Linked DNA regions of Homo sapiens: region 1 is linked to region 2. The links are contacts of gene promoters, found by promoter capture Hi-C in human tissues and cell types (Jung and others, 2019). All regions are on one chromosome and are shown on one strand. Each heading gives the region's core, a stretch centred on a gene start or on the middle of the fragment in contact. The rest is flanking DNA. Distances are from core to core; before and after follow the strand shown.

Region 1 (3,047 bases), core at 38-2,537, 1.1 Mb before region 2:
ACTGGTAGAACACTTGGGGCAGTGGGTTGGGAGTGACATCCTGATCTCTGAAGCTCTTCCACTCAGACCTTTCAATTAGATCTGCAGCCTCAGGACTTTGGACCTTTGGGGACTGCTGTGAACAGCGAGCTGCCCCAGGTGTCTGGGCAGGCAGGGAGTATGGGTGCAAAGCTGTGGCCTCTCTGCCTGTTCCTCCTTCTGTTGGCTCAGGTCTGAAAATCTGGGTGTGGCCTCTGCCCCTCCTCCCCGTCTCTCCTGAGTATCTCTTGTATCCACCTGCTTCTCCCTCTCCTACACTGCCACCCTGGACTGGCTCCCTTTGTCTCTGGCTGGGACCTTTTCGTGATCTTGTGCTTGGTCTCTTTTCAGCCACTCTTTTCCATCTCTGATCTGCCCTTCCCATGGCATTTAGAGGTCTCTTTCTAAGATGCAGGTGGAATTATGTAACCAGCATCTGATTGGCACTCCCAGCCCAACTCAGCCCGCCACAGCCCCATTTGTTTCTTTCAGCTAAAATAAAATGTCTTCGGTGACTTCCACTGCTCTCAGGAGAAACAACAGCTGCAGGAACCCGAACACCCATGTGGCTAGTTGATCTCCAGTCTCTGGCACCCTCTTCTTCCCTCCTGCACTGTGACTTTTTTTTTTTCAGTTTTTTGAACAGACCTTACTCTCTTTTCTCTGGGGCCTTTGCTGTTTGTTTGTTTTCTTCTTCTTCTTCTTTTCTTTCTTTCTTTCTTTCTTTTTTTTTTTTTTGAACCGGAGTCTTACTCTGTTGCCCAGGCTGGAGTGTAGTGGTGCAATAGGCTCACTGCAACCTCCGCCTCCTGGGTTCAAGCGATTCTCCTACCTTAGCCTTTTGAGTAGCTGGGATTATGGGCACGTGCCACCACACCCAGCTAATTTTGTATTTTTAGTAGAGACAGGGTTTCACCATGTTGCCCAGCCCCACACACGCGTAGGGTGACCTACAGCTACCTGCTCCACACACGCATAGGGTGACCTACAGCTACCTGACCCACACACGCATAGGGTGACCTACAGCTACCCGCCCCACACACGTGTAGGGTGACCTACAGCTCTGCCTATACCTGTTATGCTGGTGTAATTATTAGTAGACCCCCTGGTGCCTTGGTTTGGATGACAGGTTATGTGGGCCCCCTTCACATTTACGAACTTTTCATCTAATACTCCCCAGCCTTATAGATTCACTGACTCCCTTGGGGCAGTGATCAGACACACTGCCCCCCTACAGCCCCCCAGGATCAGTTCAGGGTCCTGTTTTAGCCTTATGCCTTCCAGGACCTTTCCTATAGGCACTGGATCTTAGTGTACAAAAATACACGCATTGATAAAATCTTTGCTTATTGTTTGTCTTCTCCATTAGACTGCAGGCTCCATGACTTAGGACAGTGCCTGTATTTGCCCACGATGTAACCCTAGTCCCTGATACAGAATGAGTGCTCAGTAAGAATTTATGGAAGGAAGGAATGAATGAATCTGGCTGCAGCTGTCTGGCAGGGGAGGCCTGGAGCCTGGGCGAGTCTGTAGAATCTGCAGTGGCCTGCGTGAGGGAGGCTGCCAACATCGGGCCAGTCCAAGCCCTAGCAAGCCAGTTGCCCACACTCTGGCACACATCATCGGCTTGGTGGCCCCTTTAATTATTCATCGGTCTTTCTCAATGGCCTTTGTGTTCAGAAACCCAAGACAGAATTCAAACCCTCTTTCCATCTCCCTAAAACTGAGACCTGGAAGAAAAACCTGCTGGCCCATTCTGCATCCCCAGGGGGCCAGCAGGTCCACAGCCTCCTCTCGTGGCTGGCTTTAAGCGTTGAAGTGTCCTGGGCTGCCCTGTGGCTCTCCTCCCCAGTCCACTGGGCTCAGGGACTGCCTGGGCACAGCTGAGTGGGTGCCCGTGTGGCTTGAGACTGAGCAGGGACTGGTGCAGGCTGGTGGGCAGAGCTGGATGAGTCCCCATCATTCCCCAGCCTGAACGGAGTCTGAAGGCTGGCCTGGAAGAGTTTAGCCTCCCAGCAGAGTGGAGCAGGCTCAGGCTTTGACCGACCTAGTTCACACCTCAGTTCTGCCTCTTGCCAGCTGTGTGACTGTGGGGAACTGGCCCTTGGTGTCCTGTTCCTTTGTTCCTTTAACCTAGAATTGTTGAGTGGACTTGCTGAGATGGCGCATGCCTCGTGGGTGATGATAACAGTGAGTGAGCACTCACTGAGGGTTATAATGGTAGCCAACATCTTTGAGCAACCCTAGGATATGATTCCCTCTCCTTCCCTCACCTCCCCTTGGGGCTCCCTGAAGTCCACGTTGCCATCAGTGTCCCCATCTTGAAACTGAGGATGGAACGCTGATCTTTCCTTTCAAGGTTGGGGGGAGGGGGCTGGGGAGCCGAAAGCACCCCAGGGCTGCCCTTGCTGCAGTGTCTGAAGTGAAGCCTAGGAGCCCCGGTGCTGGTGGGCAACAGCAGGCGTGGATCTCTCTGATCTTTGAAGAGGACTGTGAATACACTGACCACAGGCGGAAGCCCCTTGTCCCGTCCTGCCCTGCACTACCCAGAGGTCCCTGGGCTTCTCAGCAGAGGTGGACAGATCTGCTTGCAGCTGCCCTTCTTCCCACGCTTCTGGAAATGGAAGTTCCCACAGACACATTCCTGTTCCTCAGCTTGCTGCTCCCTGCTTGCTGATACCTTGCCGCCCTGTCCCTCAAACCGGGCTGGCCATACCAAGGTGTTGGCGAGCTGCTCAGCCTGCTGAGCTGTTGACACCCCAGACCACCGCCGGCCTAGTGGACAGGCCAGGAAGGCAGTGATGGCACTGGGTCACATTGTCCTGGGCCTGGGTGAGGGTTTCTGTGCTGCTTTTTAATGTGCTGATCTGTGTGTTTGTGTTTTGGGAGAAGAAACTTTGTGTTGCGGAACCTCAGGTGAAGAGAATTGAGGTCGTTAGGCTCCTCCGTCATGGCCCAGTGTCATCTCGGGGCCATGCAAGGCCTCTGTGTGTCCGTCACATTTTATCCTACAATCTCCTGTGATGGAT
Region 2 (2,922 bases), core at 89-2,588:
CTAAACCTGAAACACACATAGTGAGGAAAGCTGAGAGTCTGTGATTAAAGCACACCAGGGAAACCAAACAAAAGGCTTGGTGTAAGGCAGCTGTGGTGAGCAAACCTAGTAAGCCGTTACTTCAAGAGTTGGTTTCAGGCTGGGAACGGTGGCTCACGCCCGTAATCCCAGAACTTTGGGAGGCCGAGGTGGGCGGATTGCCTGAGGTCAGGAGTTCGAGACCAGCCTGGCCAACATGGTGAACCCCTGTCTCTATTAAAAATACAAAAATTAGCCGGGTGTGGTGGCGCGCGCCTGTAAATCCCAGCTACTCAGTGAGGCTGAGGCAGAAGAATCGCTTATCCCAGCTACACAGTGAGGCTGAGGCAGGAGAATCGCTTAAACCCGGGAGACGGAGGTTGCAGCGAGCCGAGATCGCGCCATTGCACTCCAGCCTGGGAGACAGAGCGAGACTCTGTCTCAAAACAAAAGACTTGGTTTCAGATTATTGTGTTTGCGAAAAAGCCTTTGCTCATTCTTTGCTCTCTGATCTCTTATGCATACTTCTGTCTTATAATTTAGCCCACCGTCTCCTAATTTTTGGCCTGCATCTCCCTTGAGAAGAAGGACCTCCATTTACTCAACTTAGAGAATAGGGCCTAAGCCCGGTGTAGTGGCGCGCGCCTCTAGTCCCAGCTACTACAGGAAGGCTGAGGCTTAAGGATTACTTGATCCAGGAAGTTCGAGGCTGCCATGAGCCGAGATCACACCACCGCACTCCAGCGACAGAGAGACTCTGTCTCTAAAAAAATAAAATAAAGCCTAGCACACCGTTCAATTAACAGTTGTAGGGTAAATGTGCAAATAAATGAATGGAGTGAAGCAGAAGAATATGGAAATTCAGACCGCAGAGTTCCGGAACAAAAGAGCCCAGTAGATAGAATAATAATGGAGGAGAACCCAGTTCTCCTAGCTCCGGGTATCCCCCGCGCCTGGCAAAACACCATCACTGGTTGGCGTTCAATAAATGTTGACTTCACATGTTAAGGAGATAAGAGAGTGGAAGAAAAAAAAAAATCCAGGGTCACAGTTCTTCCTGCCACCTGCTCGGCCGAATGCAGAACTGAAAGTATTGAGCGCCGGAGCTGTCACAATTGAGGGAGATGGTCCGCAGCCAGGTAGCTGATTTCCTCTTTCCGAGCTTTCTAGCTTTCCCTACTCCCGGAGAGGTGGCGTCACGTGACTCAAACAAATATGGCACTTAATTTTCATCTTCCCTGCCTTGAGCCAATAGGAGTGGGGCTTTCAGTCTTTGTCACCACCCCCACCACCGCTGTTCGGAGTGGGTTCTGTCACCTGACTCGGCTCAAACATGGCTGCGCTGAGAGCTCTATTGCTTTGGGCGCCGGGAGCAGGTGAGTGTAAGACACCCCTGAGAGGGAGGGGCCCCTCTCCACGACCCCCGCAGAGAGCGTCCCTGCGGCCCACCCCCACACTGCTTTCCACTTATGACACAGATTCGTCTCCTGGTCGTCAATCCTCTGCCTTAACAGAGGGCTCAAACTAGGGAGGTTCCTGCTGAATTTCTCATTCTTGAGGAGGCGACCACCTGGGGATTTGGAGTCAAGACTGGGCATAACGTTCAGTAGGGAATACGGACGTAGAGTTATGGGTCTGCGCCCGGAGCAAATATGACTATTAATATTATTAAATATAGGAATCCGCGTGAAGAGATGGGATCCACCCCTTGAAGAAAGTGTTTTCAAAAAGTAACGTGGGAAATTAAACTGAAAACGATACTTAGGCAAGCAAGTCCCGCCTTTCCCAGGCGGACCAGTAGTTGCTGCTTTGTCTTAATACAGTGCCTTCTGTTTCTTCTCACTGGCGTTGTGTTGTTTCTAGGAGGTACTCCGCGAATGAGAACATTGAGAATGTGTTCGGCATAACTCATTTCTTTGTATCTCCCTGCACTCTGTGCTGGGAAAATGAATCATCCATTTGGAAAAGAGGAAGCTGCTTCGCAGAAGCAGCTTTTTGGATTTTTCTGCGAATGCCTGCGGAGGGGAGAATGGGAGCTGGCACAGGCATGTGTACCTCAGCTACAGGAGGGACAAGGGGATATCCCAAAGAGGGTAGAAGACATACTTCAGGCATTGGTGGTGTGTCCAAATCTGCTGAGGTAAGGGATCTCTTTTCCTACCAGACGGTCCCAGGGTGAGAGACATGTGGTTCAATATTTGGGCATTGGTCAATGTGCCCCCACTCAACTACCCTCTGAAGAATAAGCAGAGGCACAGTGTATTTCACGTGCTCTGAAATTTTACCTCTATAGTATACATCCATTACTTAGTCAATATTGGCTTTTGATTATCATCTGCAACTGAATGTAAGCCTGGCTGCCAAAGTGTGCCTGAAACTGCCATTTCTTGTTTATCCTCGTTAATATAGATGGTGGAACTGCATTGAAAACTATTTTCTTTGCCTCCAAAAAAGCAAACCCTGCTCTCTTCTTGCTTATGAGATTGAAAATATTGTTGTCGCTTTACTTAAAACTTTTTATTTCGAAATAATTGCAGTCTCACAAGAAGCTGCAAAAATAATGGAGTCCAGCGTATCCTTTTCCCAGTCTGCCCCAATTGCGACGTCTCATACAGCTGTAGTACAATATCAAAACCATGAAATTGACATTGGCACATTACTTTAAATGACACTACAGAGTTTATTTGGTTTTCAGCATTTTCTTAATCTGCCTTCATTTTTTCATTTGTAGTTTTATGCAGTTTTATCCATATATAGATTCATGTAATCCCACTGTAATAAGGATCAGAACTGTTCCATTACCACAAAAGAATTCCCTCACTCCTTGGTGCTACCTCTTTGTATTTATACAACAACCCCTCCTTGTTCCCTGGCAACCACAGTTCTCCATCCTTGATTTTCAAT

The links. Contacts are between HindIII fragments. The study calls those that stand out against the background at their distance.
Region 1: a fragment that was not itself captured here is called in contact with the fragment with the promoter of ZFYVE26 in region 2 in 1 of the 25 tissues and cell types used here (spleen).

The regions. Positions count from the first base shown.
Region 1 is chr14:68,942,873-68,945,919 of GRCh38, reverse strand. The region is part of intron 1 of ACTN1 (actinin alpha 1); the gene reads left to right. Among named protein-coding and RNA genes, the nearest start is that of ACTN1, 35 kb to the left of the region's middle. RefSeq lists an enhancer at 2,811-3,047. The HindIII fragment of the contact is 5,962 bases long and covers 1-3,047 here.
Region 2 is chr14:67,815,006-67,817,927 of GRCh38, reverse strand. ZFYVE26 (zinc finger FYVE-type containing 26) reads left to right here and starts at 1,338. Exons shown (of 42, transcript NM_015346.4): 1 at 1,338-1,394; 2 at 1,882-2,158. The coding sequence starts at 1,965. RefSeq lists enhancers at 807-906, 957-1,126. The HindIII fragment of the contact is 27,987 bases long and covers 1-2,922 here.